5 separate regions of the Homo sapiens genome follow, and all the other regions are linked to region 3. The links are contacts of gene promoters, found by promoter capture Hi-C in blood cells and fetal thymus (Javierre and others, 2016). All regions are on one chromosome and are shown on one strand. Each heading gives the region's core, a stretch centred on a gene start or on the middle of the fragment in contact. The rest is flanking DNA. Distances are from core to core; before and after follow the strand shown. Region 1 overlaps HPSE2 (heparanase 2 (inactive)). Region 2 overlaps LBX1-AS1 (LBX1 antisense RNA 1). Region 3 holds the start of LINC01475 (long intergenic non-protein coding RNA 1475). Region 4 has its middle 18 kb from the start of PAX2. Region 5 has its middle 1.6 kb from the start of PAX2.

Region 1 (2,700 bases), core at 160-2,659, 1.1 Mb after region 3:
GTAGCTGGAGCTGGGTGTCATTGTTCACAATAAAGTGTAAGGGAAGGGGAGTGTTGGCAAGTTTGAAGCGGTGCAGTGACAACAGATAACTGTCAGCAATGTGGCACAGAGATAGGTTAGGAGGCAAGTTCTGAACTAAAAAGATAGCAGTGGATGGAGGAAAAGGAGCAGATTTGAAAAACACTATAAGGTCGAATTATTTTGACTTGGCTACCCTACACAAGGGAATTGGGGGAGAAGTCTCAGAAGACTCCAAGCTTTCTGGGTACAGTAATTGGATAAATGGCGGTACCATCACAAAGATAAAAAAAAAAAAAAAGCAGAGATAAGGACAGAGTTTGAGGAGAAGATTTTGAATTTGGACCTAGTGACTTTGAAATTCCTGTGGACAGCCAAGTGGAGATACAGAAGTTCATAGAAAGAATGTAGGTAGGGTAGAGATACAAGCTTAGGGAGCATCAGCTTGTGGATAGTGACCGAAGTCAAGGGTGAGAGCAGCAGCAACCTGGGAGGAGTGCAGAGTGTGGGGACAGAAGAGTCCAGGGACAAAACACTAGGAACCCTAGCATCTGAGAAGCAGGCAGAGGGGAATGGCTCCCTCTCAAAAAAACAAAAACAAAAACGAAAACAAAACGCCATCCAGAAATGGAGGAAAACAGAGAGAAATATCATGGGAGCCAAGGGGAGAGAGGGTTTTGAGAATGGAGACCTGAAAATGTGAGTACCACAGAGCAGTCAGGTATGATAAGGACCAACAAGTGCATCTGTCCACAGTGACATTAAAAACAATAGCAACAACAGGTCAGACACGGTGGCTCATGCCTGTAATCCCAGCATTTTGGGAGGCCAAGGCAGGTGGATCGCTTGAGGTCAGGAGTTCGAGACCAGCCTGGCCAACATGGTGAAACCCCGTCTCTACTAAAAATACGAAAATTAGCCAGGTGTGGTGGCACATGCCTGTAGTCCCAGCTACTCGGGAGGATGAGGCAGGAGAATCATTTGAACCCAGGAGGCAGAGGTTGCAGTGAGCCAAGAATGCACCACTGCACTGCAGCCTGGGCAACAGATCGAGACTCCATCTCAAAAAAATAAATAAATAAAAATAAAAAGAACAACAACAACAAAAACACCATATCTTAAGTATATGGTTCATTATGCTTTCAAAGCACTTTCATATTTCTTATTTCATTTCTTTGGTGCCTATATAACGTTCTTACAGATGCAAAAGCTACAGGGCAGTGAGGTTAGGGGATTTGCCAAAGCCATCTAGCTAGTTAGCAACTTGGCTCCTGGAATTCGAGATTTCAGTAGAGAATCTTCACCATGCTTCCTGGTTCTACTCTTAGCTTTTTAACCAACCAATAAAGAAACCAGAATAGGGCCTGTTCCAGGACAACTACTCCTTATTAGTATAGATTTTTAAAGGTTTGCTAATCACACGTTGTTTTGCACTCCCCAGAACCCAAAGATGTCAATACTGTGGGATCATCTGAATCTAAAAGGGCATTACCTAATTCTTCAGAAGAAAGGTTTGCACCTAATTCTGTATATGGGAGAAACCATTGAAGGTTTTCTAGCAGAGACCTGATATAAATTTGAGTATGCCTTAGAAAGATTAATCGGTATTATTGAACTCGTGTTTGACTGTGCTTATATCTGGGTGATAGATATTCATAGCACCTGAAACAAAATAATGAAAATACACTGTGAAGACCCATCTGGGCTTCTTTTGTAACTGAACCACTCTCCTCACCCTGCCTTCCACTCCAATGAGTAGGCTGTCTTCACTACAGAGGGTCACTTCTCATATTTGGAAGCAAAAGCTCCTTGCATATCTGATGCGGTCAACACTGACCTTCAGATCTCAATTCTCCCACCCCATGCCTTCCAGAGGCAGGCCTCGCTCTCCATATAGAAGCCTCCTACTCACTTATTCACTCAGTCATTCTAGCAAAGGGAGGGGGCCTGCTCCCTCTGGCCTATCAGATCTGGACCTAGCCCAAACTTACCCATGTGGGGCCAGGCCTGGATCTCTTCTCTGCCTAGCTCTCCATTGGGAGCAATTTACAACACACTTATCTCTGGGAATTCACTGCTCTATTGGGCATGGGTCTGATTATCTCTCTCTAAAGCAGTCTATCATTCATAGCACAGAAGGAACACTAAACAAAGACCTCTATATCAATTTATAACATTCTATTCTCTTTACAGCTCAGATGATGTCACGGCAATGTTATCACACTGGAGGTTGGGCAAGGCCCAGAAACAGTCATCACTATGCAATGTTGATTTTCTGAGGGTGACTCACAACCTTATTTCCAGCTGGTGGCCTGTTTCTGGCCTTTTCTGCTGACCCATAAAACTAAGCTTCCACCTGGGTGCATGGCTGTCAGGAACAGCTGGAACATTATCTGGATTCTGGTACCATAGGTCAAGGATAGGTGGCATTTCCCTCTATCCAGCATAAGATGAGCTGTTTCTCTTTTCTAAGTTTGCTATGTATGTAGTCCCCCTTCTCAGGGTGAAAGTGGCTGGCTATACAGAAAGGATAAAAGCAAGATAGATGAATTGTGATCACAAATGCCTACTTTATCACTTACTTTGCTGTTTTGCTAAATGGAAACATCTGTTAATATTAAATATGAAAACTCATTTTTTGTTTTTTTTAGGGACAGAGTTTCTCTGTCACCCAGGATGGAG
Region 2 (2,700 bases), core at 22-2,521, 1.7 Mb before region 3:
AAGGCCACGAGGACGGCAAAGTTAGTCCAGGCCTCTCCCTAGGGGACAGGGCTGTGGCGGGTGGCACCTCACCAAACGAAAAGAAACGAATAGAAAGAAATACGTAGAGGCGGAGGGAAGAGGAAAGGAGACGGAGGAGGAAGAAGAAGATGGGGGAGGGCTGGTGGCCTCCCTGGAGGCTTGGGATCTGGCTATGCGGAATTCCCGTGAAGATCCCTTTTGAGGTCTGGTGCATGCCGGCCCCCGCAGGACTGGCGGAGCCAGGGCGGAGGTCTTGGCCCGAGGCTCGCCGCATAGGTGTAGGGAGGCTGAGTGGGGACAGGAGGGAGCGGCGAAGGAAGGGAGTCGACCTAATTAATGGAAGTGAAGGGGCTGGGGAGGAACTGGAGGGATTGAGCGTTGGTGGGTGTGAGATGGGATGAATGCAATCCCTCAGGATCGGGAACCCAGGGACTTGTGGGAAGTGGGAAGAGCCAAAGGGGCCGGGTTTCGCTCAAACGAAATAAGGTTTCGGAAGTTACGGAGTGTACCTAGGGGGCCGCGGGGAGACAGGGGAGTCTGGTCCTGCAGGAATTGCTTCCACAGGTCCAAGAAAGGCTGGGAGAGGCCCAAGTACGTGGGAGTTCAGAGAGGGCGGAGGGCCCTGCAGCTTCCCTGGCGCCTCACTTCAGGGCAAGGAAAGTCCTGGCCAGGACGAAGCAGCCCGGAGGGATCCCGGCTCTGAGCACAGATCCGAGCCTGGCGTCTTCACTGTGCTTGGAACCACGCCGCCCACGTTCCCTGTGCGGCTGGGCACTGCAGATGCTGGGTTTTCCACAGGTCAGACGTCCGCATCCCTTATTCTGGCTCCGTCTCGCCGCCTGTCTTCCCTTGCCCGGAGTCTCGGGACACCTGAGCGGCTTAGCTGAGGTAGCACTTCCCAGCAGGCGGCCCCCTGACCCATGGGGCCCGAGGGGGTTGGGACCGGGGAGGCTCTCTGAACTCGACCTGGGTAAATCCAGGATACTGGTGGGCGGGGGATCTTCCACCCGACTCCCTTTTCAAGTGCCTTAATTGGCTACTCCCCTCCGCGGGGAATTGGGCGCCGCGCGGCGGCGGCGGCGCTGATGCAACCGGCCCCCGCGCGACTGCTGAATTATTCACGTGCAGTTTATTTATTATGAGAAGCCTGACTCAGGCCTTTCCTGTGTCCATTTAGCCGGGCGGGCGGCTCCTCGGTCTCTTCGTCTGTCCCCACTAGGTCCTTCCACCTTTCCACCTGGCCTAAGCTCAGGCCCCATGCCCGGCCTGCGCCCGGCGCCCCCCGACAGTAGTGAGACCTCTGTGAAAGGGAGGGAGCTGACTACCATTAACGGTTTTTGGTCAGACTTTGATGTTTCTGGGCCGTTTGAGTTAGTAAGACAGAGGGTCAGCTCTTGGAGTTTCTGGGGATGGCAAGGAGAAGGGAACTCCAATTGTAGGCCCAGGAAAGCAGCCTCTCTCATCCCATCCCCACCCCTCACCCCACCCCATAAATAAGTAAATAGCCATCCCAGGAGTCCAGCAGCCCCTGGCTCTAGGCTGCAGACCTGCTGCCGATAAACAAGAGACTAAGGGTTTCACCCTTACCCAGTAGCTCACCGCCAGGACAACAGAGGGAGGAGCTATAGGGAACTCTGGAACCTCTCTTAGGGTGGCATCTTCGGGCTTGTGCTCGGCTGTTCCCTTTGCCTCCAGGATGGTCCCTGCTCCTGCACCTATTTACATGCTCCTGGTTTTACAAAGTTCAACTCAAATGCCACCTCCATCAGGAACAGAACCAGACTCTCCCCCCACACCGCGCCCCCCCCCCCAACACACACACACATGCTCACTTAGGTTCCTTTATCCTCTTCACAGACCCCTGGGCTACTGGAGTGGCGTGTGGGTGTCTGTTTCCTGCCACTCCTGCCTGCCCATCACCTCCCATCTTCTGTCCATTCTTCCTCTCTGCTTCTGGGCCCAACGAATGATGGGGGGGTCAATCCTATTTTCTTTCTTTCCTTTCCTTTTCTTTTCTTTCTTTCTTTCTTTTTTTTTTTTTTTTTTTTTTTTTGACAGCGTCTTGCTCTGTCACCCAGGCTAAAGTGCAGTGGTGCGATCTCGGCTCACTGCAACCTCCAACTCCCAGGTTCAAGCAGTTCTCCTGCCTCAACCTCCGAGAAGCTGGGACTACAGGAGCATACCATAACACCCGGCTAATTTTTGTATTTTTAGTAGAAACAGGGTTTCACCATGTTCACCAGGCTGGTCTCAAACTGCTGACCTCAAGTGATCTGCCCTCTTCGACCTCCCAAAGTGCTGGGATTACAGGCCCAGCCACTGCGCCCGGCCTTAATCCTATTTAAAAAAAAATCCAGCCTGGGCAACATCATGAAACTCCATCCCTACAAAAAATACAAAAATTAGCTGGGCTTGGTGGCATGCTCCTTTGGTCCCAGCTACTTGGGAGGCTGAGGTGGGAGGATCACTTGAGCCTAGCAGGTCGAGGCTGCAGTGAGCCCAGATTGTGCTACTGCACTCCATCCTGGGTGACATAGTGAGACCTCATCTCAAAAACAAACAAAAAAAGCAAATGAAGGAAGTTCATTACTAAGTCAGACCACACCACCACAGCTGGGTCCACAACCCAGGAAACTCACTCCATAGCCAAAAAGCATTAGAGAATGAGGCTTCTGGGCC
Region 3 (2,700 bases), core at 199-2,698:
CCCCAGGAGTGTGTTTTTTTCAGCTGCTGCGCGGGGCAGGAAAACTTCCTGGCGGGTAAATACTGGGCGCTGGATCCACGAGGAGATGCAGTGTTTTATCTATCTATGGGTGGGCGACATGTCCTTTTTCAACTTGTTGCCTTTGCTCAAGCTTTCTCTCCACTTGGAACATGTTTCTGACACTTAGCCTCCACGAGTGGAAACTGTTCTCCAAGGAAGAGCTCCTAGATCGTCTAGCCGGAAGTCCCCTCTTTCAGGCTCTGAACCTGCAGCTTGTGTTAGCAAAGGACATGCATGTCACTTATCACTTCCCACTTAATTCTATAGCTGTATGTGCCTGCCTGGTCGCCCCAGTTAGACTGTAAGCTCCATGAGGGCAGTGTCCCGGGGTTGCTTTTGCCCTTGTATCCCTGGCAGCAGCCGCACAGAGCAGTATGTGAAAGGAAGATAGAGTTATGACTAAACTTTGGTATTCGACAGCTCTTGCTTGGCCTAGTCAGTGTGTGATCTTCGGCGTTTCTAAGTCTGTTTTCTCGTCTATAAAACGAAGGCAGTAATACCTTTTTTGGTTGTTGCTAGGGTTGAATGAGGCAAAACATGCCAGAATCTTAGTGCACGGCCTCACGCGTGTTAAGCGCTCAGTACGTGTCAACGACTGCTTTTCTGTATGGGAGGTCAAGCAGTGTTTGTTGACTGCATTGGTGGTGCGTGGCTGGAGTGTGGCACATACTGAGAGCAGGATCTGTCCTCACAAGGGAGGTGACCCAGCCTTGGCAGCCTTCTTTTCCACCTATTGAAATCAGGAGCCTGAATGTAGGCCTTGCCTCTCCGACAGGCTTTTAAAATTTCTCTACCTACACGCCTTCTGGCACCTTCATGAGGCCCTGGTTGTTTTCTGGGGGAGTCTATACAGTCCCCCACAGATTCTGGAAACTCTGAGCTGGAAACTCTGGGACCATCTTCTCCCACAATAGGCATTTGCTCGCTACCAGGCCTAGCCCAGTGAGGAGCAGCGGGCGCTGCTTTGAGGGCCACAGAAAGACCCGTGTGCAGCGCTGGCCTTAAAAAAATAGGGAACGGTTCCAGCTCAACCGTGGCTGTCCTCATCCGGCCCCAGCCAATCCAAGCATTTTTTGGCGGTCAGGATGGCGGAGCTGAAAGAGACCCGTCTCACCTGGAAGGGGCAGGTGAAAGGTGCAGGGACGGTGGACATTGCCTCCGAGCGGCATAAGACACCGGCTGGGAGTGGGTACGAGGGTGGAGGGCTGCCACGCGGGTCCCGCAACGGCGACAGGAGTGGGTGCCCAAGGTTGAAGGGAGAAAGAACAGCCTGTCGGGAGGTGGGAGAGGCGGGGCTCTGCAGAAGGGAGCGGAACTGTTGTGGAGAGGCAGCCCCTGGGTCCGCCCGGGGAGCTGGGATGCCGCGCGGGCCACGTGCGCCCCGGAGTACTTAGGGTAGCGGCGGCCCGCAGGCAGTAGGGAGAGACCCTCTGTGGGCAGGGTCTTGTGCTGGAACCGCCATTCCTCAGCCACAGGGGCGCCCGGTGTCTTTCTGCTTTAAATCCTGAAACTATTGACGCCCCAGGCGGAGACCAGTGTCTACAAACCAGGCGGTGAGTCTGCAGAGGGAGGAATGTGCCTGGTTTTGCCGTGGATCCCGAGCGCTCGGGCACAAAAATTCCGAGGTGGGGGCAGAGGGGTGCACGGCACTGCGGGGTGGCGGACCTCGAGTGTGTGTGCATCACGGTGGCCGCCGAGCATAAAAGCAGGAAGCTGAGCTCCAGCGCCACTTCCCCACCCCACCTCCGGGGCAAAACTGTCTCAGGGGAAATGTTTCTGCTCTCTTCTAGTCCCCAGTTTTCTTCTCCTCGGTGATTTCATGATTCTGGAAAAAGAAAAGGAGAAAGGCTATCGAAACAATCTCTCTCTCCCCAGTTTCCAACCGAAGCCTGCATTTCTCCTTGTTACATTCCCTTGCTTCCCATCTCGCTTCGCTCCTAGGCCTTTCATAAATCTAGCCCAACAATCCAGGTCTTAAAACTGCGACCAGGACAAAGCGCCCCTCCAGCGCCTGATCGCCAATACACGCCCACAGACGCTCTGCAGCCGCCGGAGCCCACCAGGGCGCCTCTGTGAGCTCATGCAGGGGGCTGTCTCCTCCCCACCAGCCGGCCCACGGGTGCCCCTCTACCCCAAATTCCGCCGCCCCAGCCGCTCCCGGGCCAGGTACCTTGCGCCAGGCCTAAGCGGTTGTCTCTTGAGGACCCTGGGCAGGTTGCTCCTCAGTAGGCCACCAGGGCCTGTGAGGACTTCCAGGCGAAGGGGCCTAGCGGGCGGCGCCTAGACCTTATCGCCGCTTCCTTTCCTCATACCCAGCCCAGTGTAGTGCTGTTCCAGCCTGCGGAAAACCTCTATCCGCTACCGCATCCCTAAGGTTGATCTGAGTTTTATGCCCAGAGCAGGAGTTTGGGTTGTCTCCAGCTACCCCCTCAGTATTGTTCAGACTCCCTTGGTCTGGTTCCCCAGTGGCGTGCTTCCCCGCAGGGATCCCCGCCAGGCCAATCTCATCTAGGTGGCCTCCTTTTCCCGCGCGCGCAGCCTGTACCCTCGACGGCCGCGGGCCTGAAAGGAGGAGAACTCGAGAGCCGTAGTTGTACAGCAGCAGTCGCTCCGCAGGAGTCTCTTATCAGAGTGGGATCT
Region 4 (2,700 bases), core at 186-2,685, 1.2 Mb before region 3:
ATCAACCAATAAATTCCAGGAAAGTGTCAAGATAAAGGTGACTGGGATACAGAGAAAGGTAATTGGGAGTGTCAGGGAACACTTCATAAAGGGAATGGGGTTTTGCAAGATCAGTAGATGTCCACTAAATGCAGGAGCTAAGCAGGTGAAATATTCCTAGGCAGAAGGAGCATCAAGATAAAGGCATGGGGAGGGGGCAACAGCCTACCTAGCTGGGGAAGCAAAAAGGATTCTGTGAAGCCAATATATGGGTCAAGTAAGGGAAATAAGGCTGGGAGGTTGGCAAGGCCTAGAGCAAGGAGAACTTTTGCTAAGGATTTGCTTTTCTCCTTTAGGTCATGGATGCAATTGAGAGATTTTTTGTTTGTTTGCTTGCTTTGTTTTGTTTTTGTTTTTGAGACAGGGTCTCACTTTGTCACCCAGGCCAAGTGCAGTGGCACTATCACAGCTCCTCGCATCCCCAACCTTCCAGGCTCAAGCAACCCTCCCACCTCAGCCTCCCGGGTAGTTAGAACTACAGGTACATGCCACCACACCTGGCTAATTTTTTAATGTTTTGTAGAGATGAGGTCTTGCTATGTTGCCCAGGCTGGCTTTGAACTCCTGAAGGCAAGCAATTCTCTCACCTTGGCCTCCCAAAGCAGAGATTACAGGAGTGACCCACTATGCCTTGCCTGGGAGATTTTTTCAACAGAGGAATGAAAAGATCTGATTTGGAGGGGACTCTATGGACAATGAGCTGTAGGTAGAGAGAGCATCAGAGACTGAGTGAGTGGTCTGCAAAAGAAGATGTGAGGCCTCAAAAAAGTCTAAGGGATACAGAAGCATTAGATGAGAGAGGCAGAAACAAGATGGTCACAGATTTTGTGTGTGTGTATGTGTGTTGCAGGGTGAGATGCTAAATTAAGGTCAACCTAGGTTTCTGGGTGAATTTCATCTCAATTCTGATTCCTCCCCTGTACCCTCCAACTCTCTTCCCTTGCAAATCCTCACCTGTAGTGGTTGTGAAGTGGAAACCCACATGTCCTGTCTCACTTGACAAATGGGTTTTTCTCCCAACCTCATGCACCCTTTACCGGGCAGTCTCATAGAACAATGCACACTATAGAAGATGATAACTTCTCACTAATCCCAAGACATCTGAGAAAGCAGCACCCAAGGGTAGAAGATGGAGTCAGCAGTCTGGAGGTGGACTCCACCTTTCTCAGATCTGAAATGTACCAGCTATGTGACCTTGGGCAAATCCCTTGAACTCACTCTGCCTAAGTGTTCACGTCTGTAAAATGGGGACAAGAATTTCTGCTTTATAGAATTGTTGGCCGGGCGTGGTGGCTCACGCCTGTAATCCCAGCACTTTGGGAGGCCGAGGCGGGCGAATCACGAGGTCAGGAGATCGAGACCATCCCGGCTAAAACGGTGAAACCCCGTCTCTACTAAAAATACAAAAAATTAGCCGGGCGTAGTGGCGGGCGCCTGTAGTCCCAGCTACTTGGGAGGCTGAGGCAGGAGAATGGCATGAACCCGGGAGGCGGAGCTTGCAGTGAGCCGAGATCCCGCCACTGCACTCCAGCCAAAAAAAAAAAAAAAAAATTGTTGGTCAGGTTAAGTAAGTTTTTATATTCCTGGCACATTTAAATAACACATTTCATCATGTTATTTCATTCCCTACCCCCACCCAAGCCTTGGACTTCTTCATGCATTGATTGAGCTTTGTCTCCTGCACAGGTACAGGGTGTCAGGGGTACAAAGAGCAGTAATGTAATGATGCTCTGGAAAAGTTGTCAACAAGAGGAAAGGCCTTGTACTCCACTGGAACAAGGTTAATGATAATAACAACAAAACAACTAACATGTCTGAGGGCTGACCGCATGTCAGATATTGTTCTGAGGACTTTATATATAGTAATTCCTTTAACTCTCACCTACTGTCATGAATCCCATTTTACAGATGGGAAAACTGAGGCACAGAGAGCTTCAGTAGCTTACCCACAATCACACAGTGAGTAGGTGGCAAAGGTTAGGTTCAGATCCTACCTTTGCCACCTACTGCCTCCCTAACCTACACTCTTTAAGCATATGCTATATTAGATACTCCTAGTCCCCAGAGAGAAGTCAGAGGGCAAGAAACCATTTTGTCTGGCTGAGAGGACTCTTTAAGGACATCAGTTGGTGAAACACAGGAGCCCCCCACCCCCTGCCTTCCAGATCCTCATGCCAGTCCTCTTTCACTCCCTCCATACTCTGCTATTTTCTCTGCCCAGGGCCTCTAAATCAGATAACTCAGATCTGACTGCTGCAGGCAGACTAGCCAAGACTGTGAGGCTGCAGGGCCTCCCAGCCCTCACTCAGCCCTTCAGGAAGCTCTAGGGCCCCCACCCCAAGAAGTGTTTTTTGTGTTGAGAGATTGATTTTTCCCAGTCAGGCCTTGCCCCTCTCCAAGATGCCCTCAGGCCCTCCCAGCTTCCAGGCCTGCAGCGTCACTATGGGTGTCTCCTCTCCATGCCCTGTCCCAGCTGGGCTTAGCCTCTGATCAGGCCTAAGTGGGCCCTGATCCTCAACACCAGCCACAGCAAGAATTCCCTAGACAGATCCTGATGGGCCACATGCAGGCCTGACCTGGGTTGTCCCATACAGATCCTCCATGAGACTGGCCAAGGTCCCTGGGAACTGCAGAGCACAGAGGACCCTGCCCATGAGCCCA
Region 5 (2,700 bases), core at 5-2,504, 1.2 Mb before region 3:
GGGAGGGAGGGAGGGAGCAGCCGGCGAAGGAAGAGGGAGGGAGGGGAGCGGACCGGGGGAGGGGGAATGGGAGCCCGGGATTAAAACTACACTGAGAAACGAAACTCGCCGATAAGATAAACGCTAGATAAGGATAAAGAGCGGTCAGTCTAATGAATATTCAGGTAACGACAGAGGGCCTCGGAGCGCGCTGCGCTGTGAAGCCGGGCTCTCAGTTCTAACTCGCCCAGCCCTGCCATCCACTGGCCAGTGCCCGCCTGGGCCGCGCGGCCCCGGGCCCAGTGCGCATCCCTAGCCCCAACCCCACCACCCTCGGCTCTGAGTTCCCTTCCGTTCCTTCCCGGCTCTTCCTTCCTCTCTTTCTGGTCCTTCCCTTTGGCCTTTCCCTCCGGAGGTACCTTCCCACCCACGCACCCCCCACTTCTCATTCCACGGAAAAGTGTCCAGCAGTTTGTCTTGTCCCCTCCCGTTCCACGCGACTGTGCGCAGGGCCTCCCCAGTCCCCTTGCCCACCGGGTCTGGGCAGTCCAGAACGCTTGGTTCAGAATCGAGCTGAAGACCTCCGGCGAGTACCCACCTGCCTCGGTGGGACCCAGCGGATGGCGGGAGAGCCGGGGGACTTGGTTTCTGAACCCTCGGGTGACTGGGAAGGGGGTACAGGGGAGGGAAACAGTGCGGAGCTGCAGGTCGCTGGCGGCAGAGGATGTGGGAGACGAGGCTGGCTCTCCCCGGCTGGGGAGAAGAGGAGGCTGCGGACGCGGCTGAGCGCCGCCCGCTGCTAGCTCGGTGGATCCGGGGCGAGCGCAGGAGGCGCAACCACGGGGACGTCCCCACTCCTGCCGGAGCCTCCGCAGCTCTCTCTGGCACTAGCTCCCTTGCTCGCTGGGGTCCGCTCGCACGCACCAGGCAGAAGAAGCCCTTTGTCTCCTAACTGGTTAAGTACAGAATATCCGGGAGATCTTCATGAAATATTTTCCCTCGTCTCATAAATCATCTTGGCACTTCAGCTGATGTTTTAACTCTCTCTCCCTCCTTCGCTCCCTCCCCCCGCTTCCCTGGGTCTGCGAAAGGGCGGCTCGGCGAAGCTTGCGCAGCGCTCTTGCAGCCCGAATCCGAGATTCCTCCAGCCCCCGTCTGCAGCTCCGGGCGCCCCGCGGAAGCGCGGCGGACTCGCGCTCCCCTCCCTCTGGCCGGAGCCTGGGCGGCAGATACCATGGGGAGAGATGCACCTGCCTGACTCAGCCTAACTACTACTACTGGGCGTCTTGTACCCGGGTTTTTGGGATGCCCTTATTCCTCAGGAGGAGCTCAGGCCAGGCTCAGCGGGACGAGGTTCTGAGCCTCTCACTCCTGTGGGGCCTGGGTCCGCTGGGATCCTGGCATTTGCCCTCCCTCCTGTATCCTCCAGAGCCCAATAAGCTTAATCCACCTGCGGGGTAAAGTCTGGGAGGAAAACACTCCTCACCGCCTGCCCCTCCCAGCCCCTATCCCACTTCCCTTGGGTGGCTAGGCAGGTTGGTTCCCTTGGGCTAGAGGTTGAAGACGCAGGGCCTAGCCTCTAAGGTCAGTCTCTTCCTCTTGAGGCCTGCAGATGGCGCTCCCGGGTTTGCTTTGGCCTCACAACCCCACGAACACGCACTAACTTCGTGTAGGGACCGAAGAAGGAAAACAGTTCGGGCAGCCGAAAAGTAACAGCTCCCAGGCCAGAGTGCAAGGGATCTCAGGTGGTATTAGCTAGCACAGCCTTGGCTTTCCCCTCTGGGAAGTAATTAACCCAGAACTGGGGTGAAAGGAACGTTGAGAAAGGGTCCTTATTTAGAGGAGCTCAGAACTAAAGTAACCTTTGCCCCAGGTCTCTCCAAGTTGGTCATCCAGGAATTTGTCTCGGGGTGTGTGAACTATTGAAGGAAGAAAGCTGTGAGTAAACCCCCCCCCTTCCACACAGACACAGATTTTTCTAGAACCAGCTAGACATGTCCCTATGTTACAAGTACCATGAAATGTGGGTGCCCACAACAAGCATTTTCACATGTTGGGCGAGAAGGATTTTCCATTTTGTAGAGAAGGGGACTTAATGCGCCAAGTGTGCTGGAAGTTGTCCTCACACACCTGTCCTTCACATGCACCTTCTGAGGAGTAAAGACCCTTCTGATAGTCCCATTCCCAGGTAGCCCCTGAGAGTCCCCCCTGCTCCTGGGATCGTCTCCCCAGCACTGCACTAGCTGGACACTCACTCTTCCGCCAGGCCGGCTCCTGGCCGCTTCCCCATTAGCTCCAGCCCATTCCTGGGTCTAGAGAGTCAAAGAGTAATGCTCCCTGGAGATTAGGAACCCCTTTTCTCCAAAGCTCTGCCTTCTCCTGGGGCTCCAGGATGAAGGGCTGGCCTTCATCCAGTCACTGGCCGCTCCTCTGACTCCCCCTTTTCTGTTCTCTTTCTTCTATACAGTCTAGTAGAGGGGTGGGGGGAAGCAAGAAAGCAAAAAAAAAAAAAAAAAAAAAAAAAAAAAAAAAAAAAAAGGAAGAAAGAAGAGGAAAGGGGAAAAGAAAGAGAAAGAAAGAAAACAACCCAACCCCAAACACTACCCGGGCTCCGACCTGTCAGGGTTGGTTGCTTTTCCCGTCCGCCTCTAAATGAACCTTTTCTCTCTGGTGTTTTCAAAGCGGCCCTTCCACCCCCCAACCTAGGGGCATTTACACTTC

The links. Contacts are between HindIII fragments. The CHiCAGO score rates a contact against its expected background, and 5 or more counts as called.
Region 1: a contact is called between a fragment that was not itself captured here and the fragment with the promoter of LINC01475 in region 3, in 4 of 17 cell types (erythroblasts, M1 macrophages, endothelial precursors and 1 more). The highest score is 9.7, in erythroblasts.
Region 2: a fragment that was not itself captured here is called in contact with the fragment with the promoter of LINC01475 in region 3 in 1 of 17 cell types (total B cells); the score reaches 9.6 in total B cells.
Region 4: a fragment that was not itself captured here is called in contact with the fragment with the promoter of LINC01475 in region 3 in 1 of 17 cell types (naive B cells); the score reaches 5.2 in naive B cells.
Region 5: a fragment that was not itself captured here is called in contact with the fragment with the promoter of LINC01475 in region 3 in 1 of 17 cell types (total B cells); the score reaches 9.8 in total B cells.

What each region holds. Positions count from the first base shown.
Region 1 is chr10:98,460,579-98,463,278 of GRCh38, reverse strand. All of the region lies in intron 11 of HPSE2 (heparanase 2 (inactive)), which reads left to right. Among named protein-coding and RNA genes, the nearest start is that of HPS1, 15 kb to the right of the region's middle. The HindIII fragment of the contact is 1,920 bases long and covers 450-2,369 here.
Region 2 is chr10:101,234,884-101,237,583 of GRCh38, reverse strand. All of the region lies in intron 2 of LBX1-AS1 (LBX1 antisense RNA 1), which reads right to left. Among named protein-coding and RNA genes, the nearest start is that of LBX1-AS1, 6.6 kb to the right of the region's middle. RefSeq lists an enhancer at 624-1,546. The HindIII fragment of the contact is 3,789 bases long and covers 1-2,700 here.
Region 3 is chr10:99,529,925-99,532,624 of GRCh38, reverse strand. LINC01475 (long intergenic non-protein coding RNA 1475) reads left to right here and starts at 1,448. Exons shown (of 5, transcript NR_120618.1): 1 at 1,448-1,613. RefSeq lists an enhancer at 1-353. The HindIII fragment of the contact is 4,428 bases long and covers 154-2,700 here.
Region 4 is chr10:100,726,049-100,728,748 of GRCh38, reverse strand. No RefSeq gene overlaps it. Among named protein-coding and RNA genes, the nearest start is that of PAX2, 18 kb to the left of the region's middle. The HindIII fragment of the contact is 4,114 bases long and covers 1-2,700 here.
Region 5 is chr10:100,742,661-100,745,360 of GRCh38, reverse strand. It overlaps a transcript of PAX2 not described here. Among named protein-coding and RNA genes, the nearest start is that of PAX2, 1.6 kb to the left of the region's middle. RefSeq lists an enhancer at 688-737. The HindIII fragment of the contact is 334 bases long and covers 1,088-1,421 here.